7 separate regions of the Homo sapiens genome follow, and regions 1, 2, 4, 5, 6 and 7 are each linked to region 3. Evidence: promoter capture Hi-C in 16 types of primary human blood cells and fetal thymus (Javierre and others, 2016). All regions are on one chromosome and are shown on one strand. Each heading gives the region's core, a stretch centred on a gene start or on the middle of the fragment in contact. The rest is flanking DNA. Distances are from core to core; before and after follow the strand shown.

Evidence for each region. Contacts are between HindIII fragments. The CHiCAGO score rates a contact against its expected background, and 5 or more counts as called.
Region 1: a contact is called between a fragment that was not itself captured here and the fragment with the promoter of HOXD1 in region 3, in 1 of 17 cell types (fetal thymus). The highest score is 5.7, in fetal thymus.
Region 2: a fragment that was not itself captured here is called in contact with the fragment with the promoter of HOXD1 in region 3 in 3 of 17 cell types (fetal thymus, endothelial precursors and naive B cells); the score reaches 7.2 in fetal thymus.
Region 4: a fragment that was not itself captured here is called in contact with the fragment with the promoter of HOXD1 in region 3 in 5 of 17 cell types (fetal thymus, megakaryocytes, naive B cells and 2 more); the score reaches 9.3 in fetal thymus.
Region 5: a fragment that was not itself captured here is called in contact with the fragment with the promoter of HOXD1 in region 3 in 4 of 17 cell types (fetal thymus, total B cells, endothelial precursors and 1 more); the score reaches 7.8 in fetal thymus.
Region 6: a fragment that was not itself captured here is called in contact with the fragment with the promoter of HOXD1 in region 3 in 1 of 17 cell types (fetal thymus); the score reaches 5.9 in fetal thymus.
Region 7: a fragment that was not itself captured here is called in contact with the fragment with the promoter of HOXD1 in region 3 in 1 of 17 cell types (endothelial precursors); the score reaches 5.2 in endothelial precursors.

The regions. Positions count from the first base shown.
Region 1 is chr2:176,667,198-176,670,719 of GRCh38, forward strand. No RefSeq gene overlaps it. Among named protein-coding and RNA genes, the nearest start is that of LINC01117, 31 kb to the left of the region's middle. The HindIII fragment of the contact is 1,253 bases long and covers 1,001-2,253 here.
Region 2 is chr2:176,571,391-176,574,772 of GRCh38, forward strand. No RefSeq gene overlaps it. Among named protein-coding and RNA genes, the nearest start is that of MIR1246, 28 kb to the right of the region's middle. The HindIII fragment of the contact is 2,605 bases long and covers 687-3,291 here.
Region 3 is chr2:176,187,088-176,190,767 of GRCh38, forward strand. HOXD1 (homeobox D1) reads left to right here and starts at 1,581. Exons shown (of 2, transcript NM_024501.3): 1 at 1,581-2,366; 2 at 2,721-3,680. The coding sequence starts at 1,715. The coding sequence ends at 3,055. It overlaps HAGLR (HOXD antisense growth-associated long non-coding RNA), which reads right to left and starts at 1,871. Exons shown (of 3, transcript NR_033979.2): 1 at 1,727-1,871. MIR7704 (microRNA 7704) reads left to right here and starts at 1,756; the gene lies at 1,756-1,814. The HindIII fragment of the contact is 11,390 bases long and covers 1-3,680 here.
Region 4 is chr2:176,630,888-176,634,168 of GRCh38, forward strand. It overlaps LINC01116 (long intergenic non-protein coding RNA 1116), which reads right to left. Exons shown (of 5, transcript NR_188023.1): 2 at 2,146-2,238. Among named protein-coding and RNA genes, the nearest start is that of LINC01116, 5.1 kb to the right of the region's middle. The HindIII fragment of the contact is 1,665 bases long and covers 806-2,470 here.
Region 5 is chr2:176,646,676-176,650,407 of GRCh38, forward strand. All of the region lies in intron 2 of LINC01117 (long intergenic non-protein coding RNA 1117), which reads left to right. Among named protein-coding and RNA genes, the nearest start is that of LINC01117, 11 kb to the left of the region's middle. The HindIII fragment of the contact is 267 bases long and covers 1,947-2,213 here.
Region 6 is chr2:176,587,861-176,591,413 of GRCh38, forward strand. It overlaps LOC124907910 (a long non-coding RNA gene), which reads left to right. Exons shown (of 2, transcript XR_007087314.1): 2 at 59-2,071. Among named protein-coding and RNA genes, the nearest start is that of MIR1246, 11 kb to the right of the region's middle. RefSeq lists an enhancer at 901-2,100. The HindIII fragment of the contact is 1,865 bases long and covers 663-2,527 here.
Region 7 is chr2:176,530,373-176,534,081 of GRCh38, forward strand. No RefSeq gene overlaps it. Among named protein-coding and RNA genes, the nearest start is that of NRAL, 25 kb to the left of the region's middle. The HindIII fragment of the contact is 3,325 bases long and covers 726-3,709 here.

The DNA of each region.
Region 1 (3,522 bases), core at 377-2,876, 480 kb after region 3:
AGGCAGAGTTCAGGAAAGAATAATTAAAAATGAGAAGTGACATTAATTTTAAATAAGTGCTTTCCCATTTTCTGCTTTCTTTTTAATTTTTAAAAAATCTTTCCCTTTCAAGCATTAGCAGAGCTGCAAGCACAGGATGGCCCAATTTTGTGAAATTAGGCCTTTGCCCATGTTTCTAATTCAGAATTGGATGTACTTTAAATGTCCCCCTGAGTGTAGCAGCTGAGAGTCCTCTTCTCTCCTGGGTACTGTAATCTTTGGTGGGGTCACTAAAAGGAGGGATATGTCACAGGTAACCTTCTACCACTTGCTATGGGGAAGCTTTCTTTTGTGTTCTTTCAGATTTGAGTAAAGTTGCCAAACATGATAAAACTGCTTGATGATGGCAGAATTGTTAAGTCTACTCTTAACCCTGTCCACCAGTTTACCAATGAAAAGGTCAGTGGCATGCAAAGAGAGGAATTCTTTATAGCTGCCAAACAACTGGTTTAATTCACCTGTGTTCCACCCTAGAAGTACTCGGAGATAGCTACTGGAAGGTCAAGAAATAAATCCTTGTAGTTGGGAAGTCATAATTTTCAACAATCATCTTCAATTTATTTTGAAGCAATTATTTAAACCTGAATTAGTTGTTAAGTCACATATAAGATAGGTAGTTAGCTTGTATGGTATAATTATTCAAAGGTAATTTGTAATTAATTATGAAATACCTTTACTAGAAAAATAAGTCCTATATAAATTGAACTAATTTTTATGGTACTAGTAATATTACTATACCTATTAGAGGTGGAGCCTATATTAACTATTAACATTAATTAATGTTACACTAATAACATTAACATTAATAACAATTAATAACATTAATTGTTGTTACAGGATAATTTTAGATTTGCAAGGATCCTGAGAAGTTATCCAATTTAGCTTTTTACCTTCAGAGAGAATTAAGCTAAAGCTCCACCTGTTCCTTGAAAATGATTCCTTCTGCCCTAAACCTTGGAGAAGCTTTTCTTCCTTTGAATTCTGTGCTGTATCTGTGCTGGACATTTGGAATTTAGCATTGATTACTCTGTATTGCAATTTTATGTATGTGTCCTATCTCCTGAACCAAAGTGTCAGACCCTTTCAAATTAAAGACTGGAATTGAACATTTTGGCCCACTTCCCGCATATGCTAAGGCAGTGGTCTATGATGGAAGATGTTCAGTATGCACTGAGGAGATTGATCTAAATTTATCTTGAAAATCATGTTAGTCCTTAACAATCTTCTCTTGGTATTTGATCAACAACTTGAATTAGAAAGTATCAGAGATGTTTGGGACATTAGATATACTCTAATCTAATCCCTGTTTTACAGATCACAAAACTGAGTAAGGGCCAGAGAGCAAAATCAATTGCCTAAGACACATTGCTGGTTAGTCGACAAGAACCCTCTTTTTAGGATGCCATCTGATATTAATACCAATGTGTATGCCCTACATTAGGGTCTAACTTCACAGGTAGACTCTTCTCTCCTTAGGTTTGTTCATTTGAATGAATGAATGGTTCCTTATAAATGTCTGAGGTGCCAGACCAGTGTTCTTTCTTTGTATATTCATAGATTAGCAGCAGCTTATAATGCTGCAGATATATTCTGCTACTAGCCAGTGGCCCTGGAACCTAATTTACAATATCCGGGTATTCTGTATTCCCTTGAACATGTGATTTTTTTTCCCTTTGAATTCTATGTTTTTTGGATTGCTCATGGTGGAAGGTTTGGGACATAAATCATCATCATTTGCTACTGATCCAATTTGGGAAAACTAGGTCAGTGAATTGTACATCTGTATTAGTTGCTGTGGAAGGACCATTTTAAGCATTCTCAGACATGTAGCTAAGCAAGTCTGGGGCTCTCTGACATTACATAATTTCTCTGCTAAACCAAAGATCTCATTGAGTTTGCTGTTCAGCCATGTCTTATGTTGGATTAGGGGTATATTTGTTCAAAGCTCAGTTTCATCATTTGTCCAGCTTCACAGTATTTCCCCAGATAGGGAGGCTGCCTTCCAGGCTTGGCTGGTTTTTCCTATATTGCTGGGAAAGTTTTCAGTGAATGAATACAATGTAGAGTTTTCATTTGTCACCATGTTATCTCATTTCTAATTTTTGTTCAAGTTATTTTAAGGAAAAGCACCACCCAGTTTCTCTGACCAACTTTTAAAAAAAGATGAAAAGATTTTCTCAGCATGAATAATAGCAACAAGCACATGATGGTCTAAGCTTTTGAACTCTCAGACAGCTGGAGTGCCCAGAATCAGAGTGATTTTCTTCAACCACTTTAGTGCACTGTGAATGTGTGATCGGAGTAGAGTGTGTGATCTTAAACAGTCCTGGTGTCGTGTGGGGAGTTTCCATTCCTTCACTAAATAGACTTCCTGGTTTGAAATTAGCGTCTCATCATGACAAACAGGACCATGTACAGGGAGGTCAGCAGGGGCCTTTCCTGTCATTTGAAACGTGCCCTTGGTTTTGCTTCCCCTAACCCCAGTGCCTTGGAATGCTGTTTGAATCTGGGGATCAAGTGATTCTAAAGTCTCTCCAGGAAAGGAGAATTCAATGAAGCATTCAGCAGCAAAAACTTGGTTAAAAGTGCAGCCTGTGTCAGCATAGGAATGAATTAGAAACAGACTGTGAAAACCTCACCTGTGATCAGTATCACACCCAGAAAGTTGGAGACATCAGGAGGACATGTTCTATGTTTTCACTACCTTGTTGCAGGCAGTCATGAGAGTGATAGGAGGTCACTGTGACTTGTAGTTGTAGGTCCCATTTACTTTCAGGAGAGCAGGCTGAGAGGCTAAGTTCTGTGGTCCGTTGATTATCTTACCTTGGCTTTTCATAACCTGGCAGTTTCCAAAAATAGTTTGAGGACTAACAGAATTGCTAACTACCTCCCACCTCACTCCTGTAAAGACAGTGAACACAACCAGTCTCTTTTTTCCTTTGTTTCATACAAGAAGGGAAATTTTTATACTATAATATGAGAAGACTATAATCTAAAAATAAAATCTTTCTTAAGAAAATTTCCTCATTTTGCTCTGGACCTGTGAAAATGTTTGCACAGACCTGCCTTTGGGAAATCACTTCTCTAGGATGAGCAACATTACGAAATTCCCTCTGTATGGCCATAGCATAGCTTTGTTCCTAGCTCCGGCTAACTTTCTTTGTGGCTGATGCTTTTTAAAGAATTCTGGTTGAATGTCACTTAGTACTGGCTGGAACTTTGTTCAGTAGTTTTGGTAGATGCTGCTGGTATTATCATAATTCATTCATTCACTTGCTTATTTAACAAACTGCCAGACCCAGGCTATGTACTGAAGAGATAAAACAAAATAAACTCACTATTCTCAAGGAGCTTGAAACTCCTTTTCAAGAATCTTATTTAAAAATTTTTAAAAGTCTCTCTTTGTGCCATGAGGGCTTGTGTAGAACACAAGCAGAAGTTGTGAAATGAGTATTTATCTATAGATCCTAAATAAAGGTTTAT
Region 2 (3,382 bases), core at 739-3,238, 380 kb after region 3:
ACCAAATGCTTCATTTGACCATGGCATATGTTTCATTTGACTTACAGTATTGATCGAAACTTTTTGTATTGATATTACATATCCAAAAAGGAATGCAATTAAATGTATTTGAAGACTTTAGTTCCATTCTTCTCATTTTTCTGCTGCAAAATACCAGAGGAATCTGACTGATCCTATGTCAATGATTCATACATTACTTGACGTTTCCCAATAATTTTGTAATTAATCTTTGTATTTTTTTATCAGTTTCATTGTGACCTGACCAACTGAGCTTACAATTGTGTTTCCCTCTTGGCTGCTGAACTTCAACACATTTTGCCATTATGACTTTTATATTAGTTTTCATTTCTTTCTATTCTCAGTTCAGCAATATTGCTGGAGTAATTATTGTTCTTTATACCTTCCAAACATGAGTATATTTTTAAAAACATAAATTAGATGAAACTGTATTAAATTCTCTGGGATCTAGAACATATTCTCAAGGGGGATGAAATCCACTAAAATTATATGTACCTAAGATACGCTGGTAATATTTTGCTAGAAAAATTCTTTGTTAGCATAAAATGGTAAAATATATTACATACAGTATATACATATATAGATAGATGTTTGAACATATAAACAATTTATTTAATAATATTTATTATCTATGTTTCAAACTTACTAATTAATGTGTTGGCTTTCTAAGCTTTTCTCCTTTCTTCCCCAATAATTCTGAATCTACCTTTGTCACTATGATTAGGTAGTCCTTTATAAAAACATTTCACCATTCTGCCCCCATGTCTTCACTTTACATTTTCTTCTATGAACCTTTTGCCCTTGTTTTCTGTCAACTCTTTTGAAAGACATATTTTCTCAACTTACAGTTTTAAAGACATTCATAAGATGAATTCAGTTACCTTTTATCCCATTCTCCTTTTGTCCAAGGAGAATGTTGAAGAAATAACATTTTTTCAGTTGCTTAGCATTTTTTATTTCTGGAGAGAACTTTCACTGTTGTTATCATTTGACTTGAAAATGACATGTATATTATCCATGTGTCTGTAGGCATTTTTTAATTTTAATAATTTTGTAGATATATTTATATGTATTTTAAGCAATAGCTGCGTTAGACTGTATAAATCCCTCCCGCCCCCCCTTGTTTTTTTTTTTTTGAGACAGAGTCTTGCTCTGTTGCCCAAGCTGGAGTGCATTGGTGCGATCTTGGCTCACTGCAACCTCCACCTCCTGAGTTCAAGCAATTCTCCTGCCTCAGCCTCCTGAGTAGCTGGGACTACAGGCACATGCCGCCACACCCGACTAATTTTTTGTATTTTAGTATAGACAGTGTTTCACCATGTTGCCCAGGCTGGTCTCGATCTCCTGGCCTCAGGCTATACGCCTGCCTTGGCTTCCCAAAGTGCTGGGATTACAGGCATCAGCCACCATGCCCCACCCTAAATTTCCCATTTTTCAATAGTTATTTAGTTTCACAGTCTTTTCTAGTTTTTAAATTTTGAAACTGCTCATATGGACATTCTCTGTCATGTTTTTCTTGCCAAGGACAGCACAAGAGAATCCAATGCTCTTTTTAGCTATGATACCTTGGAACTAAACTTACTCTGACAAATGCAAACATTTTCCTGCACTGACAAAGGCCTTCACTAGTGAGTGGCGTGCTGGCCACATTGTCAGGAAGGCTTACCTTAGAAGCTATAAATTTATAAGAGGTCTGACAAAGCTGGGATGTTTTCAGGTGGTCTTCCTTAAGATCATTTAGATTTAAATATTTGAAAAGAACCCTCTAGAGACCACCTTTTTAAGAAAAAGCTCATCTAACGATGAAGATGGGGCCAGAGAACTCTCAAAGCTGCCACCACTGCTGCAACCATTTAACATCCTGTTTTCATCTTTCTCCTCCAGCAGCCACCTCAGTAGTCCCAAGGCGTGTTCCTGCACACTTACCGCAGGATGCCATAGCTATTTCCTTATTTTGTGTAGCTATTTTTATGAGGTTGTAGACAATGTGCACGCTGGTTTGTGAAGGGTTAACACTCAGTTGTGCTGTTGTTGTGCCCTTAGTCACAATATGTTTCCTTTGAAGCAAGGGTGCAGTGTTTCAAATGACAATCGGTATAATTCTGTGCAGATTTTTCCTGATTAATGGACAGGAATTTTCAGTCGAATCTTTAAATGAGTTAGGACAGTGTAAGAGATGGATATAATCCTTACATTTTTTCATTAATAGACATTTCAAATTTGAAAAACTAGGCATTGTATACATATCTGATTTATTGCTGTATGTGTTTCTTGAGTCATAAAGCTGCTGCAAAAGTTATATAATGCTTGCAAAAAAAATAGCGTGGTCTCTTTGTGAAGCTGAATGAAATAAAGTATAAAGTTTGTGATACATTAAATCACAAACATAAATATGTACTTTATGGCCAGCTGTTATTTCTAAATGTGCACATTTTAAAATAGAAACATTTACCCAACATGCTGATTAGCAATTTCCCAGTTCCAAAAGCCCAATTGCATTTAAGATGCAAAAGATTAAAATGCCTAAATAGATAAAGTTAATAGTTCATCTTCCTAAATGCTTTTATATGTTTTAAGTCTTACAGTTCCTTCCAACCCAGTAGTCTCAAGGCTGGAGCTACTTTGATGTGGATTTGTGTTTTATGCACATGTTCTCATTGGAACTGAATCTCACTGCATCTCAGACACCCAGAAAAATATTCTGCACATGAAGGGACGAAGGGACACCATGTGGCTCCATACTACTTCATGCTGTGCATGCGGGTTCTCAGAGAAAGTGAACTGTTTTTCCATTTTAATTTCTCAAATATTCAACCTTCATTTTGGCTAAAAATCATCTCAGTTGCTAATGTTCCATCTCTCAATTTTACTCCTCCCCTGCATAAAAACTGGTCAAGGAGAACATGCAAGATTATGTTGATTCTAAAATACAGTTCCCCCAGGAGACCTTATTGGCTCGTCCATATAGCATTTCTGTCTTTGTAGGTAGAGCAGAATTTGTAAATGCCTCCAGTCCTTTAGGACACATTGGCAATTGGCAGTTCAAAAGTTCATATGATGCCATATGTCTGAATAATTTTTATCTACATCTAAAACAATACAGGACTGTCAAATAAAATCCTGCATGCAAACAAATGATGGAATGCAGGGGAACTCTCTGCTTTAGCCTTTTCTTCTTTGTCCGACAAGCTAATGCAATAAGGCCAATAATAAAAGGTTGTGTATTAGGCCTAAAGCCTGTGACAGATAAAAAGAAATGTTGGAAACCAATGAAGCTTTTGCACAATTAGATTTTTTGAGGCTGTGCTGTAAGGATTGCCCAGAGCCTGTTCAGTCCTGATTGATGGTAAAATCATAACTACAT
Region 3 (3,680 bases), core at 331-2,830:
CGGGTCCATCAGTAGTCCACATTTTGGTAGGGCTTTGTTTATTCACAAGTCCACAACCCTGGAAGGAACTGGCTCCCTGGGCTGTGATGGCGCCTATTCTAAAGACTTCCTCAGAGTGGAAATTTAGGCAACAACAGCTCAATCGCTCTTTTATGACAAGTCAATCAGTAAAACAATGATAAAACCTCGGTTACCATAACTTAGAGGCTGTAATAGATTAACTTTTCAAGGGCACTTGATATAAGCTCTGAGTAGACTCTTTAGAGTCTTTATTCACACAGGGTTTTAGGAAACCACCCTCTTTCATAACTACTGTGTGTAAATAACCTCTATTTATCTAATTTGTAATTTTCCTACAGTCCCCTCAAAAGGGAACATTAAAAGAAATACTAAAGGAAGTTGGAAAGTTTGTCAATGTAAAGCTGGTCTTTGTAACCTTTCTACTCTTCATTTCCTGTGGCAATTGCACTTTTATTTCCCGTCTCTCTACACTCAGTAAACAAAACCATATTATCAAGGGAAAGACGTGAGCCCATTAACATTGTGAGCCCTCAGATTTCACTCACAAGAGACGATGCAGCACTTATCTGATGGAGCAGAAGCTCTAATTGCTTCGAGGTACAAGTCCATCTAAACCTCTGAGATCTCACCCGTCCCCGGTAAGCCCTTGCGCCCTCCAGACAAGCTCCTCAGTGAAAGCAAGCGCCGCACCGGTGCCTGTGCCAGTCTCCCAGAAAGGAGCATAAGGAGTGTTCCACCACCACTCTGGATTCTTTATTCCAACAACCCAGCCGGAGGGGAAAATCTGCTAAACCACCCCACAAGGCAGAAACTTTATCAAAATCTGGCACTACAACACTGGCCCTCATCACGCCGCCACAAATTGCGAGGGATAGAAGAAAGCTGCAAAGTCACGTTAAAAGGAAGCCTAGTCAAAAAGTGAAAATTTTGTCCCGCCCTAGGCACACAGCACTCACAGCATAAGATGTAGTTCCATGAGTCCTAGGAAAGGGGGAAGAAAGGAAAAAACCAAACATCTGCTCTAGGTTTAGAAGAGGGATAACATCAGCGCCAAGCAAACCGAAAGCGCAGAGGACTCAGAAGAGGGGAAGAGGAATAACTTTATCTGTCCTGGAGGTGGGCGAAGAGCAGTCTCCACCGGCCGCGCGTCACGCTCCCATTTAACCTTTTCCATGCCGCGACGCCCACACTCCGCCCTCGAGGGACTAGCCCCCCCCACGATCCAGAGCAGAAGCGGCTCGCCCCGCTGCATCCACGGGCCCTCACCCAAGCGTCCAGTCCTGCCTTTCTCCCCCCACCTCGCCCAATACCTGTCCGAGAGCAGGCGTTCTGCCCTCTCGCCCCGCCCTTGCCCAGGCAGCCCCCGGTCGCGACGGCTCTCCTCGGGGCTCGGGGGCGCTGGGCGGCGGCCCTGGGCTGCTTTGGCTAACTTGGCTGCGGGGCAGGCGCGAGGAGCGGCGCGCCGACCGGGCCGAGCGGAGAGGCCGCCCATTGGCCGGCCAGCGCCACGTGGCCGCCCCCGCCGGTATATTAGGCCACTATTTACCTCCGGCTCACTCGCCATGGGTTGGAGAGGGCAGCTCGGGTAGAGAGGGCTGGCGGAGCGGCGCAGACGGCGGCAGTCCTGCTCAGCCTCTGCCCGGCTCCGTACTCCGGCCCCGGCCTGCGCCCTCAGAAAGGTGGGGCCCGAACCATGAGCTCCTACCTGGAGTACGTGTCATGCAGCAGCAGCGGCGGGGTCGGCGGCGACGTGCTCAGCTTGGCACCCAAGTTCTGCCGCTCCGACGCCCGGCCCGTGGCTCTGCAGCCCGCCTTCCCTCTGGGCAACGGCGACGGCGCCTTCGTCAGCTGTCTGCCCCTGGCCGCCGCCCGACCCTCGCCTTCGCCCCCGGCCGCCCCCGCGCGGCCGTCCGTACCGCCTCCGGCCGCGCCCCAGTACGCGCAGTGCACCCTGGAGGGGGCCTACGAACCTGGTGCCGCACCTGCCGCGGCAGCTGGGGGCGCGGACTACGGCTTCCTGGGGTCCGGGCCGGCGTACGACTTCCCGGGCGTGCTGGGGCGGGCGGCCGACGACGGCGGGTCTCACGTCCACTACGCCACCTCGGCCGTCTTCTCGGGCGGCGGCTCTTTCCTCCTCAGCGGCCAGGTGGATTACGCGGCCTTCGGCGAACCCGGCCCTTTTCCGGCTTGTCTCAAAGCGTCAGCCGACGGCCACCCTGGTGCTTTCCAGACCGCATCCCCGGCCCCAGGCACCTACCCCAAGTCCGTCTCTCCCGCCTCCGGCCTCCCTGCCGCCTTCAGCACGTTCGAGTGGATGAAAGTGAAGAGGAATGCCTCTAAGAAAGGTAAGTCCGCGGGCCTTGGATGGGGCCACCTGGGGTTGGGGACGGAGCCTCCCCCGCGGAAATGCGCTGGGAGCGTGGTGTCGCTGCCTTTCCAGACAGCGGTTTGGGTTTTGTGGAGGAGACGCGTTCCCGGGCGAATTCCATGGAGTCTGCCTCGAGTACAGATTCGGAAAATGTGCCAGGCATTGAGAAAATTTCAGGAAGGAGCTCTCCGTGGAACTTCTCCTGGTACAAATTCTGTTCCTAGGGACCCAGGAGGGCTGCGCTGGGACTTTGATTCTAACTAGCTCCACTGCTCACCCACATTCTGTCCCCGGCCTCAGGCCTGGCTGACGCCCTGTCTTTACGTTGCAGGCAAACTCGCCGAGTATGGGGCCGCTAGCCCCTCCAGCGCGATCCGCACGAATTTCAGCACCAAGCAACTGACAGAACTGGAAAAAGAGTTTCATTTCAATAAGTACTTAACTCGAGCCCGGCGCATCGAGATAGCCAACTGCTTGCACCTGAATGACACGCAAGTCAAAATCTGGTTCCAGAACCGCAGGATGAAACAGAAGAAAAGGGAACGAGAAGGGCTTCTGGCCACGGCCATTCCTGTGGCTCCCCTCCAACTTCCCCTCTCTGGAACAACCCCCACTAAGTTTATCAAGAACCCCGGCAGCCCTTCTCAGTCCCAAGAGCCTTCGTGAGGCCGGTACTTGGGGCCGAAAAACTGTGGCCTGCAGAAGTCCCAGGCGACCCCCATCCCTATCTAGACTTAGGAGCTCAGTTTGGGATGGAGGTGGGAGAACAAAAATGAATAGGGATTTCACTTGGGAAATGAAGTACTTTAGTTGGCTTCCGAGTTCCAGACTATATGTCCAGATATTAATTGACTGTCTTGTAAGCCACTTGTTTGGTTATGATTTGTGTCTTATCAGGGAAAAGGTGCCCAGCTGCCAGCCCAGCTCCGCTGCTATCTTTGCCTCACTTAGTCATGTGCAATTCGCGTTGCAGAGTGGCAGACCATTAGTTGCTGAGTTCTGTCAGCACTCTGATGTGCTCAGAAGAGCACCTGCCCAAAGTTTTTCTGGTTTTAATTTAAAGGACAAGGCTACATATATTCAGCTTTTTGAGATGACCAAAGCTAGTTAGGGTCTCCTTGATGTAGCTAAGCTGCTTCAGTGATCTTCACATTTGCACTCCAGTTTTTTTTTCTTTAAAAAAGCGGTTTCTACCTCTCTATGTGCCTGAGTGATGATACAATCGCTGTTTAGTTACTAGATGAACAAATCCACAGAATGGGTAAAGAGTAGAATCTGAACTATATCTTGA
Region 4 (3,281 bases), core at 388-2,887, 440 kb after region 3:
CAGGCCCATAATAAGTTAAATGTGTGTGTTCTATTAGTCATATATGCTTTTTAGCATGACACACAAAGGTAGGTCATGCTAAAAAGTGCCAATACCTATGTGGAAGAAAATACTCACAGTTAAACATATGCTCTAAAGGTCTTAATGTTAACATACAGGTGTCTGAATGGCAACTGCTAGGGCTTTGTGGGGCTGGGCCTAAGTAAATGCTGATACAGGCAGCCCCTTCACTTAGCCCATCCATTTTTGCCCACATTGTCTTTGGCAATTTCTGTAGTCATCTCCAATTCATTTAAAAAGTTTACTACAAGAGTTAATTGATCTTGATTGCTGGTGGGTAGCATTAACTCAAATACAGAAATGCTCTTGCTCTCCAAGATGACTCCTATTTTAGGGCCTGGCCACCGCTAGGCTAAGCTTGGTGGGTTACCCTCAAATGACCACCCACATTCATGTAAGGTGAACTTGTCCTCAAACAGCTGCTGGCTATTAAAGTTAAATTTTGATCAGATCTTCCAACATTTAGTAGTACAATTCCAACTCACTAGGTTTTCCAGGTTTTTCAAAAATCACCTTTCGTTCTCATGGTGAATAATTTTAATTGGAGAAAGAAAAAAAAATCTCAAATGCACAAAATCTTTTACCATGTTTCATCTTTTTAATAATGTATTTATTTTTATTCTAAGTCCAACAGGCAAAGACCAAGTCAATTTCAGTATTTGGCACAAAGCCTGCTGCAATATTGATGATATAATATCAATCATGATTATAAGTTACTCTGTTATTATGTGAATATTATTTTATAAGCTTTAATAAGATGCTTGAGCATTTAAGATGAATGGTTTAAAGTCTAAATTCATATTCATGCCAAATATGTAGGACATATTTTTCATAATTGTTCTTGTCCCTTGGGTCAGTAATATACTTTATAATCATCATAAAATTTCATTCTTAATTCATTTTAATTTATCAGAAGGAAAATATGGATGGTTATTGCCCAATTAAAATACTCCTGATGCTTTTAAGGTAGATATTATTGGGGTTTTGGAGTTTCACTGAAGACAATTTAAAAAAAAAAAAAGAGCAGCTGCATGGCTTCAAAGTGTTTTTAAGTGCTCTGAGTTTCCAGAGATATCCAGCTGTTTAGCAGTTCCCTGTCCCATGTCCTGTTCTCGTATCATCTGTGATGTAATCAAGGAAAGACTGGAACATTTTTCCCACATGAAAGGTGCAGGAGCATGTGACTAGAGATAGAATTTTCACTTGGTACCTAGAGAATCCATTCTAATACTTATGTACACTTGGCTTACAGTTGCCAAGAGCAGGATCTAGGAAGAAGGTCACCAAAAAACCTGAGATAAATGCATGAATCTGAGTCTGCCTCCTTGGCTAGACATAGTACCACTTGCTTTGTGAGAGACACAAGAGGTGTGCCCTTGGAATGGATGCTTTTTGAAGGTGTTTGCTAAAGGCATTTTCTCTAGACAATTCACATGATACTGGCTAGAAAGCAAACCGGTAGGTGCCCATACAGAACCCAATAGAGCAGATTCTGTTACAAAAGCTACAGTTTCTTCCAGAGAAATTAAATGAATCAAAGTGATTAATGTCCATAAAAGAAAACATATAGTCAGAAAAACTGCATTTCAGTTCATTTTGAAAAAATTACAAACAGAATTCAGTCTGACCGTTCTTCCTTTGATGCATTTGATTTCTACTTTCTTCTCAATTTCATCAAGATCTTAAGCCATAACTGTATTGACACCTATTTTTATTTTCTTCCCCTCACTTATCAGGATATTGTAATTTTATATACACGTGTTCAGTTCTCTGAAAAGAAAGTCCCCAAAGTTCATAATCTTCTAAATGTTTACCTAATATTAAGATGAAAGCACTCTTAAGGACGGATACTATGAAGATGCCTTAAGATTGTTTGAAAGTCCAGGCTTTCAAACAATTGGTGTTCCTCTCCAAAAAGAGGAGAGTCTTTGCAGTGGGAGCATAAGGATTAGTTGGTGGATGTGGTAAAGGCAGACAAGTTTATTAAAATATATGCAAATTGCTTTCATTTGGAGGTGTGTTATAGTTTACAAAGAGCTTTGGCATGCACATGTTGTATCATTTGGTAAAAATTAGCATACCCACCATTCTTAGAAGCAATTCAGTTGTCTTCTAATACACTGCTCATTTGTGAATATTTTCTTTTCGAACAGGCAGATTTTCACTTGAAATATTGAACTGTAAGATTCACATCATAAGGGGCGATAAAGTCATATGCATTCTTAAATAAAAATAATAGCACATTCTTAAAAGGACATTTGTTTGTTTATTACTTAAATGGGTTTCAGCCACTAGCGTACATTTGGCACCAGTTGCTGTGTTTTGCTCTAGCCTGAGACTCTAATGCCTGAGCACTAGTTACTCCGGTTCTAAAAAGCTATGAATTTTGATATATAGCCTACGTTATGAAAGCTTACCTCTTTATGGCTTCAACCAGGTGAGTGTATGGCTCCGGGCTTTTCTTTTCTTTTTTTTTTTTTTTTTTTGAGACGGAGTCTCGCTCTGTCGCCCAGGCTGGAGTGCAGTGGCGGGATCTCGGCTCACTGCAAGCTCCGCCTCCCGGGTTCACGCCATTCTCCTGCCTCAGCCTCCCAAGGAGCTGGGACTACAGGCGCCCGCCACTACGCCCGGCTAATTTTTTGTATTTTTAGTAGAGACGGGGTTTCACCGTTTTAGCCGGGATGGTCTCGATCTCCTGACCTCGTGATCCGCCCGCCTCGGCCTCCCAAAGTGCTGGGATTACAGGCGTGAGCCACCGCGCCCGGCCCGGGCTTTTCTTTTAGGCTCTTTGACCTAGAGAAATGAAGCTTGGAACAGGGGATCTGCAGGCACTAACTTGTAGAGGAGAGTCCCAGAGGTGCAGGTATCATGCATTCAGTGAGCTGGGAAACTCTAGCCCGGGAACATGGAGTCACTAAGTCTTTCAATGTAGGAAAGGAGCCCCAACTGTTAAGGCAGCTAGCCAAGCAGGTGACAAACTGTTGCACTTCAAAGACAGGAAATCCCTTCAAACGTTAAATTGTAAGGACACAAAATGACCTACATTCAGGAAAATGGGGAGTCAGTAATTCCACATCAGGCTTGTTCCAGTTTATTGAAGCATGTCTGGTGGATATTAACTGGTCCTAAGGATCCCACTCTAAGTGAATGGCAGCCTTTTCCACCAGAAACCCACATTTTCAACATCTTATTTTTAAAAAGTCATTCGAGTTCACATCAGA
Region 5 (3,732 bases), core at 830-3,329, 460 kb after region 3:
TAAGACAAACAAACAACAGTAAAGAGATCAAGAAGCCTGCTAGTGTGAAAGGCAGTTTGGGCTGCTAAGTCATATCTTCCCAAGGGGTAATATACAAGCAACTGGAAACAAGAGGTGTCTTCTTAACAATAGAGTCAGACATACATACACCCTTCAATCTTTTAGTAATACTTTGGGTTAAAAAATGTTTAAATATTAGGCCTATATTTTCCTTTATTACCAGAGCCTCTTCTTCCAGATTCTATCAGAAAGCTAATACTAACAATAATGTCGTATAGGTTCTAAGATTGTGGGAAACCTCACTTCAAAGCCCCTTCATTAGAAGCTCAGACTTCCATACTAGCACCTAGTTTCAGGCCCATGTTGGGACTAATTACTGCCACTGGGTTTGTCGTGAGCCATCGCACCTGGCGAACCTACCTATATCTTTCTTTGAATGTGCTCAGACCAAGGGTCTTATCTTAAAGGAATATCAGACCAGAGCACCAGACCTATGGCTGAGAAACACCTTTTTTACCCCAGCACACATTTTCCCATCCATCCATTCATCCATCTCCAACAAATAACCTTACACAGCTTCCCCACTCTGAAAGGTAGATACCATATCTGTCTACTTTATCTCCAAATCATAGTCCATAGCCAGCAGAGCGTAACCACCAAAGGAATATTTGTTCAATAAATAAGTGAACAGTTATAAAATGCCCACTATATTGGCATAGTCATACATATATGATGAAGCACAGTCCCTGCCTTCTTGATACTCACAGTTGTTTTTCAGGATAGCTTTGTACCCCATCAGAAAAAAATAGATTTCAAGGCCGCTAATGTTCCTTTTATATTCCATTGGCTGGCCGTGTCAATATTGACTGTGTAATGCACTGACAGATGCGCAGTTCCCTTCAGAGAGAAATGAGAAAAAAAAAAAAAACAGCTTCACATCAGGCAAATTTTGATTATTTCTTTCTAAAGTGCACAGCACCTCCAGTCACTAATGGTTGTAAGAGACTTCGGGGACACTAATCTTAATGCGCCATTTCCTATAGGTCTTGTTAGTTCCTAAAACCATCTGTAAGAAGTTATTGTATTTGGCTTTCTTCAGCCATATTTTTTAAGCACGACATTTAATTAGTGCTTGTTAAGATGTTTCAAGTGCTTTGGCCACTTCTCTCACCCCTGCTGTTTCTTCATGGTCAGCATATTTTCTGGAAATGTTGTTTTCGGGAAAGGGCATCAGATGCGTCTGTGTCTGGAGAATTGCTCTGTGTATCCATGTGAAGCAAGTCTCTGAGAGCAACTGGAGGGACTGTCAGGCTGGCTGTGGGGCCTCCGTGTTCACAGCAGCTACTTTGAAAGGCCTCCAGTTTTGACGTTCTCATGGAAAAAGCAGAGACCTCAAAATGGGTTTGGAACCGACAACAATAGGAGGGTACACTGGAGCCCTGGAGAAGAATGTCACATAAGTGAAATGTATTTGAAATATTTAATCTAGGAACCTTTGGATTAACTTCATTAAAAAGAGTTTGCTTGAAAGGGCATAATTTTTGCTCGAAGAGACCTTATGAAAACTGCAAAATGGTTGATGGTACTGAAATATCCACCCATGCTCACTAAAGGAATAAATAGGTTGAATATAATTCCATTATTTTTGCAACTGTTTAATACCATAAAATTCATTAAAATTTCAAACTGCTTTACAAAATAAGACATTTTTTTCTAAGTTTTTCCCCAAAATTCTTTATCCACATTTGGATTAGAATGGCTTGATATTTGTAGTAGTTTATGAAGCGCAAATTCATGTCAAATCTGATATACAAAAGAAAAGTATTTCAAGATAATACGGAATCTGTGAAAATGAAGAAATATGTGTATTTAGCTAGGTTAAGAAACGCTATCTAATCTACTAGCATAACCTCAAATTTTTTTTGAGACATATTCGAGGAACAAAAAGCTTTATGCCGATCATTGCTTTAATGGTAATTAAGTTTTCTTTCTCTTTGAATTTTACTGTACTCTTCTAAGGTAAAGAGGAAGCACAATACATGTAATATAGAGTTAGTCAAATTATTAATATTCCACATGTAAAGTAATTTCTACTGGAGCCTTTTTTTTGCCTCTGTAATCTAAACATTAAAGTATATTGAAGTCTTTAGTCAAAGACTGGCATTTGGCACTGGGTGTCCAAACATTTCCCGCTGGGCCCTCAACCACTAACAAGCTTTTTGTTTGGATAGAAGAGAAAGGGGAGAGTAAGGAGTTGAGCTGGCTAACTCTTGACATCTGAAATCTTTATCAGTCACAACGACTTTTTTGGTTTGTGTTGATGATTTGTGGTATTGTTGTTTATCTGTATATCATTCACTTGGACTCGCTGTTTAGATGCAAAGATCTCAAGACCATCTGCAGTCTTGATGGGTAGTTGTAGCAGCCCGACCAGACATCTGGCTGTCAGTTATAATTGCATTCCTGCTCCTAAAGTTGTTGTTAGATACTCCTGATTCCCTTTGAATGTATTACCGTGATGCACCACCGTTTCAGGCCATTGATGTGAGAGACCGAGTTAATTCCTGGCTTTCGTCTGGCTAGAACCAAGATTTATAAAATGAACAGAACTATCCATTTTGCTGGAAGTGTGGCTGTTTTTGTCTGCATTAGGTTTAATGATGCATCAGTTTCTTCTGCAGCCTATACAACTGATTCTTTGAACATGGAGAGAAATAGTGCATCCGAAAACTATTTTCATGGTGTTGCCATGTTTACTATTTCCTGTTGTCTTTGCCTGAAAGTGTTTTAACAAAAATTAGGGTAGAGCATACAAACATTTGAGGCAGGGGATGAAAGGAGTTGTTATTATGTTTCCTTTCCAGGTTAATGTGGTTGCCTTTGATTTAAGCACTACATACTTAGGACAGGATATGACACCAATTAAAGACATGAAACTTAATTTTTGGACTAAACAATCACATAATCCTTCTTCTGGTATCTGGTTGAGGTTTACTGACATGGCATTTATTTCTCAGTCACAATCCTAAATTTATTGGGTTGGCTTTACTTAAGGTACATGGGGCAACTAATATTAGTGCATGTAAAAACCTAGCAATGTCCTAAATTGTAAAGGAGCTATTATAAAGAGAACATATTTTTTCCCGATGACTGTCAACATGAGATCAAGAATGCATGCAAACTCACTCCATGAGCCCTGGGCTCACTCATCTTGGTTGGAGGCAGATTTTGATTTAAGATCTAAATTTCAAAAAATGAAAATCAATTTTATCTCATAAAGTACAACAGGGAAAATTTTTACTAATAACCTCTCCTTAGCCTTAAATTTAAATTACATTTTTGTCAAGAGAATTTTAGTATTTATTGAAAATCAAGTTTAGATAATAATCACAAAATAATGCATTAATCGTTTAAAAAGATAAAAAGTAATGTACTGTTTGTGGGTAACACATTTAAATAATAAAATTGAATATTAGTGTTTAATTTTAGTACAAAAAATAATTAAAATGAAGGCATGCAAATATAATGAGCCAGGTTAACCTCCCCATCTTTCCACTTTGACACCTTGTTTAACTCTAGCTAATGATGCTATGAAAAAAAGTATTAGTGGTTTCAGTTCAGCCCCTGGTGGTCTATATCACATATTGCATAACCTGCTGGTGGGTCTTACGGGCTATTTCTCATTTACAGACAGTAGCCTTTTATAATTCTGTCTGGAAGTGGGGGATTGCA
Region 6 (3,553 bases), core at 345-2,844, 400 kb after region 3:
TAGGAGGAAACTTTATGTTATCTATTACCTGACTGTTTACTAACTGTTTGTTTTCCAGGATGTCCTCCACATTCCACAATTCAGTAGCCAAAGGATTGAACTGATACCTGCAGAAGACTTCCTGGATTCCCTCTCCAAGACCCACAATCCACTATGATTGGATAAGGCCTACCCTCTAATTGATCAGTACTACACACACACACACACACACACACACACACACTCACTCACCAAGGCTTGGTTTCCTTTTCTAAAAAACAAAAGAGGGTAAAGGAATGCCCTCCCAAGTCTCTTTCTAAAATTTTCAAGTTCTACAGGCTCAGTAGGCATCCAGCCTCTCAGCACTACCCTATGTCCCCTATGCCCACGTAGATAAACTTGTTTTAATAAAAGCTAACTTCCGATTTAGCACACAGTATTAAGAATTAAAGTTGGATGAAGCTATTACTGTTACGAATAGCCTTGGGCTATTTTTCAATTCACCTATGTCATACGTCAAGTGATTAAGAAAATCAAATGCTGTATCCAGGAAAATAGAACATGAAAAGGCAGGAATAATGTGTGTCTTTAGGACACCCATTTGAACACAAAAGAATTAGGGCCCAAATTTCACTATATGTCAAATGTGAATTTATTTCTATAAAAGGCTTCAGAACTCTCTAAGCTTTGCATTGTCTGAAGAGTGCTACAGAGCCATCTGTGACTTGTAGTGGTTGCATCCAGATCTTTGAAAATGCTTTTTCTTCTTAATCAAGTTAGGATATTGGATTTCCAGAAGAGTAGGATCTCTATATTTTGATACTCGCCTGATTTCTTAAAGCTCCTAAAGGTGCCTTTTGACTTCCTAACTGATTCTAACAAACACATGGCTTCAGTCTATCTGGCTTCCCCTTTGTCTAAGAACACTGACATTAGGAGTTGCCAATTGGCACCTCTATGTGGACACCTTCCACCCAGAAACCATGTTGAGTTTTCAGGTTTCACAATGATGCTGATTTGAGTCAGCACTGTTGGAAATGAGGGTCTTTTTAAAAATGCTTCAGATTCCCAGTTATTCCTACCTTTGTCTCTTCAGTCCTCAACATCCTCTGGGGCAAAACTAGAGAGCTGCACTGTTTCTGTGTGAGGTGAACCTGCGTCCACAGAGGAGCAGCACTCACGTTCCCCACTCAAGACCTGTGTAATTTATTTGTAGCAAAGCTCCATCCTTAATTCACTATTATCTTGTCTTTCTGGCATCCTCCTTCCCTCTGTGCTATGCATGTTGGGGTCGGTGAGGGGAGCAATGACCCAGAGAGGGGCATCTTTTGCATGGCAAAGTCCTTTGGATGAGCTGAGGATTCCCATCTTGACTGAAGTTTTCCAGTTTTTAAATCTCATCTTTCATTTTGTGATGCTTGATAAAGATAGCAAAGTAATATGAGTTAGTAAATGTTAACACGTGCCGCAAATACAAAAGCAGTTTATTCTGTCATTGATAATGGAGGAAAATATGCAATAATAGTATTGAATTTGCACTCATAGGTAAAAGCCTTCATTGCAAAGCAAAATCTGATTTTTGTTTGTGACCAGCATGAATGCTGACCTCTGCCCTTTGAATGATCTTTCCGTCTCCCGGAAAGTTCATGAAAAGGTCATGGAGCTGCGCTGACTTCCTCTGTGTGTGCATGGACGTGTCTTTGCTATTGATCCAGGAAAAGACCATTCTGTGGTTTTGTTCATTTTATTTTTAATGGAAACCTAATCAGTAATTATAAAATGTTTCTAGAAGAATTCACGCCTGAGTAAGTGAAGAAAGCTAACCTCATTTCATGCTGATTATTTAACCTTGGTCATAACTCCCAATTAAATGCATTTCTTGAACCCGTAACAAAGCAAAATATGGCACTTACTGGTCAGAAATTCAAAGCAGGAGAGAGAAAAAATGGCTTAATAGCTGGAAATAAAAACATCAGTGAATTTTTCTTATGGATTCCTTCATGTCAAATTCATATCATGAGTGACTCGCAGTTTTCCCTTTAGATCATCTTGGCATCATCGAGGAGCAAAAATAAAAATGATTTCTAGTATATTCTTGTGGTGATTCCTTCTTTTGATGCTGCCTGTCACTGTAAAAAGGGTTATGAATCTCTGGAAACCTGCTGTACTGTCGGCAGCATAGGCACCAGTTTTCAAATCAGACGTCAGTAACTGGAACAGTTGGAGGGTTTTAAATCTCTACGAGAAAACTATTGCCATTTACAAACAACAAGGATTGTACTGAAATGGTGAAAAATGCACTTGCGTCATATTTAGAATGATTGTGTGTGGGAGGATATAACAATACTTTTCAGGACTGTAAGCCATACGTATATTCATATCTTGTGCTATTTATCTTGTAGATATACAGCGCTGGGAGTTCTCTACTGCTAGCTGTTAGGCTCGTAGCATTGAGGAGGAAAGATCCCAAGGCTTGTCACTGCCGTATATCACTGCAGCTGTGCCCTTTGATTACACTGGGGCGCCACCAGTCATTAATAACAGGGAAAGCTTTTTGTCTGGCAAATGCATCACTGTACAGTCTTTTCTTAACACCTAGGCATCTTGGTGCGGTAGCAAAGGTAAATTAAAGATGAAGCTTGTTTATTTTACAGCCACACTTGTGAAAATAGAGGTGGCCTTTCCAGAACCATTCAGGAAAATGTATTTTTCCCTTGCCTTGTAAAATTGAAATATTTTCATATTTTGCATTTGCTGAAGGGAATCCTGTCATTAAGTCACTCAAACAAACAATTTGAGCACAATGTAGTTATGATTTTAATTCCATCACTGTCACACTCATTTGGCTACCAGAGGGTTACAAAACAAGCTATCATCCAAGACAACAATTACTGTATAGACTTAAAAACCCAAATGTGTTCCTGGTTGAAGATTCTTGAAGAGCATAATGTGAATGAAACTTGCATAGAATGTTTTCCAAATGCGGAAAAAACAACACAGTCAAACTTGATGCTTACTGAATGTGTGGCTTTGAAAGGCTGATGCCAGAGGCCTGTTTTCTAGGCAGTAGTGCTTTCCTATCAAAAGTAATCCCGAAGCTGACCAATTTCTGAGAAGCCTGATCCACAGTAAACTAACTCACAAGAAATGGGTTTATAAATGCCACCTCCCTATGTCAAATGTTGTACTCTTTTTTTTTTTTTTTTTTTTTTGAGATAGGCTCTCTCACTCTGTCACCTGGTCTGGAGTGCAGTGGTGCAATCACAGCTCACTGCAGCCACAAACCTCCTGGTCTCAAGAGATCCTCCCACCTCAGCCTCCTGAGTAGCTGGGATTACAGGTGCACACTATAGTTTTCATTTTTAAGGCAAATGACACTGAATTCCCTATGATGTTCATTATATAAAGTTTATTTTAAAATAATGTTAGGGAAAGAGGCAGTCTATTTAGAGAACATTATTAAGGAATTCAAAGTACAGAATAGGTACATGGTTAGGACAAAACACCATGATTGGCATATGCAAATTACCAAACTATTTACTAAAGTTTGGACAACACTATTAATCAACTTTAA
Region 7 (3,709 bases), core at 1,138-3,637, 340 kb after region 3:
CTAAACGCTCCCAACTTGTCTCCAGATCTGCTTGACACTGCCTCATTTGACATTACTTAGTCCATAAAACTTTACACATTTATAATGGGCAACAATAAGACTGGGCAGTTATCGTGGCATAAAAATGGGAGAAAGAAGTTTCCAGATCATCAAATATGGACATCGTTTTCTAGCCAAATGCTTTATTAATGATAAATTAGCAGTCCCAAATGAACACAGGTGTGATAAAATATCTACTTCATTGACAGGTTTTTATTATGAACTGTACTTACAGGCTTAAATTGAAAAGACCCATCTCCACAAACCACTTCCACATTTTGAATAATGTTTCACTTGTGATAGGTAAATAGGAGGCATTTTAGGAACATTTCAATAAATCTCATTTGGAGTGAGACTGATTTTTCTTAAGTAGACAAAGTTGGGTTGGAAGACTTATAAAAATAGATTGATTATTTCCTGGTGCCATAAGAAAAGAAAACCGCAATAAGTACTTTGCTGCTGACATTTTGAAAATCTTACATCCTATAGCTTGTTTGACTTCATTAGATTATACTAAATATTAGGAAGGTGCAGAGGAATGGTGAAGAAATGAAACTAGAGAACAAGGATGTATTTGCCTAAAAAAACTGGAAGGAAAAAATGAATTCTTTTCATTGAACCACTATCTGTTCCTTTCCATCCTACTTATGAGACAAGTCAGTCAACAGCTATTTACAAGACATGGAAGCTTAGAATTACATTGCTTTAAAGTATGAGGACTTCAATATTATGGCCTAACAACTAGCCAGTATCTTTTTCAACACAAGAGTAAGCAGTCTGGCAGATCTCTGGAGTTCTAAACCAACAGATCAAGTTCCCCCCTTGGTTGTTTAGGCCTCTATAAAGAAAGAAATGCAATCCAATAATGACGATATTGGCAGTGGAGAAACACACCCAAACCCCTATTAAAGCTAATTCAGAGAGACTTCCTGTACCCTGTAATGATATTTCAAGGCATCTTTTTTGACTTGTGGTGGATTCAAATGTATGTAATGGGTCATAGACTAATAAGATTTTATTGTTCTTGGAATTGGGTTGAAATATCTCCTTTACCTCCCACCTCCTTCATTCTATCACATACCCATGCCCTCTCTGCCCTGATCCCAATATGACCTCATAGCACATGTCCCTTAGGACCAATGCACAATGAGGATTTAGCACAGCTCTCACTGCCTTACCTCTTTGGAGTCTTTGGATAACCTTCCAGGTATGGTTCTGAACCTTTTCCATAAAGCAGTAGCAGCCTTGCAGGAATTTTGCTATGAAAAAAGTAAAATGAACTGGACTTCACGATCAACCAGAAACAAGCGTGAACAGACCTGTTCTCAGACCAAATCAACATCTACTCCTGCCCTGACAACTATAAATTCAGAAGTCGTCACCACATAAAGTGCCTCATGCACAAATACTTGAACTCTGACTTCCTTTCAACAGCCTTAATGGTACTGCTTCCCATATCATTTTAACATGTCCTGGTGTTGTAATGCCATAAATGACAAGCTCAACTATGATCATGGCTCTAGTTGCCAGGCCTAACTCCACAACACCTCTGTCATGTAACAGGCGGCCCTGATGTGGCACACACAAGAGAACTCCGCCCCCGCAACTCCCAGAGCCTCAACTCTCTCAAGCCTTTCCTTCTGTATTAGAATGTGGAGGCCTAAAACCCACTACTGCAAAGTACAGACATGAAAATAATTAACCATCTCTTCTATTCAGCTATAACTTATATTCCCTCTGAGGAGGAAAAATGGAGAGAGAGAGAAAAAGAACTCCAGGCCCAGAGACCCACATTTCATTTGGAACACTAGGGGTTCTTGGTAGAGATCATTAAAGTGTAGTTTGAGATATTTTCCTTTTCTCATCAAATCACTAGCCCTGTAATTGATGTCATAAAAAATATCTGTGTTCAGTTGCAGTGGGTTTCTCAGGTCCCTTCAAGTTATCAATTATTTATATCCCAATGAAATGAAAGGAAGCTGCATTGTAAGGTCCTGAAATGCCACTGAGGAGTCTGAGGGTGGCATCGTTAATCTTGTGCATTGCACCCATGAAGAGCACATTATACTCTACTTGGGAAAGTTCATTTCCCCTTCTCTGTCATACATTATCTGGTGGATTTTATTGCTTCTCCTCATAAATAGTCTCATTGGGCTTTTTGTTTGTTCATATCCTCCACAATTTAGACTCATAAGGATGACAGGAAAAACACCAGTGCCTTCAGATTCCACAGACCCTTTTCTTTGGGTCTTGTGGGCTTTAGCCATTTCCTCCTCATTCCATGGCATCCAGGGAGTTTTGTTCACCTACCAACATTACATAGTCTGGATTTTAGGAAGAATTACATTTTCTAATGGCATAATTTAATTAGTATTAGGGTTCATAGCCTTCCATTATTTTTCCTGCTTTAATTTCCCCCTTCCCAAACTTTCTTCCCCTATTCACACAACAGAGTAATTCTAGCAAGATGAGATAATCACACTGTTACTTTTCCTTGGGGGAAGCAACAGAAAACATTTGATGATAAGTCTTAACATCCTAACTTGGCCATTATTCTTTTAGTGAAATGAAAAGGAGTCTTGGCTAGCACACTACCTTTATATATTCTGGTAAAGAACTTTATAGGTATCGCTGGTAAAATCTGATACTGCACCTTGTGCCAAGACATTATTTTCAGGCTTATTTAGGATTGCCCTTTTATAGGCCTCATTGTAACAACTAGAGACAGTTCATGGAATCAGAGTTATATCTAAACAGAGTGCTGCAATAGGCTTTAGCTTTTCCATCATGCAAAGTGCAGATCGAAATCCAAATGAATCTGTTCCTAATCAGCCTGTGTCTCTGATCTACAGACTATAAATTTGGTTGTTATCAATGATATGGCATGCAAGTGTAAGTAAGGATTGCTTATGTGGAGAAACCACTAAGAATGTTCTAAAAATGTTGGAAGAAAGGAGCATGAATTTATAAGAAAAAAATGGGTACAAGCAAACCCAAATAACCTTGTGTAGTCTTACCTCTACATGACCTATATTTTCTGTTATAGGTCATGATCTCCTTTTGGAAAACAGCAAGGTGGCTCTTTCCAGGACTGAGGAGGGCATATATATTTATTGTTCCCCATCTAGTCAAAGGGAAGTTTTGAGAATAGGGAGCACGCTGGTTAGACAGGACTGCAGCCACAATTCTTTCTTAACGCTGCAGTTTCATGTTTTATATTTACTGTTCCCTAGACATGTAGACATCTAAATTGGCATTAGGAGTGTGGGGAAATTCTGCCAATAATTGGATCCTGAAAACCTCAACAACTTGATTAACTTCAGAGACTTGCAGTCCTGTTTGCCAAGTATTATGCCATCCAGAGTTTCACAATACACCTAGCAATACAGATAACTAATATTCCTCTCCCCTTCATTTCCTGCAAAGAAAGGACTCTTTAAAACATAAGGGGATATGTTCATTCAATGCAGCTACAAAGAAGGAGAGAGGGATATTTTTGCAAAGTGATCAAAAGCTACTTAAACAATTAGGTGCCTGCGATGAAGGCCCCAGCACTTGTGATCTCAGCTTGGTGCTCCAGCTTCCTGTAGGATGGAGAGGCATCATATGGCTGAGGCTATGTGTTTCCTGTCCAGAGGAAGCAGAAGGGATCAGGAAAAAAAGAGAGTAG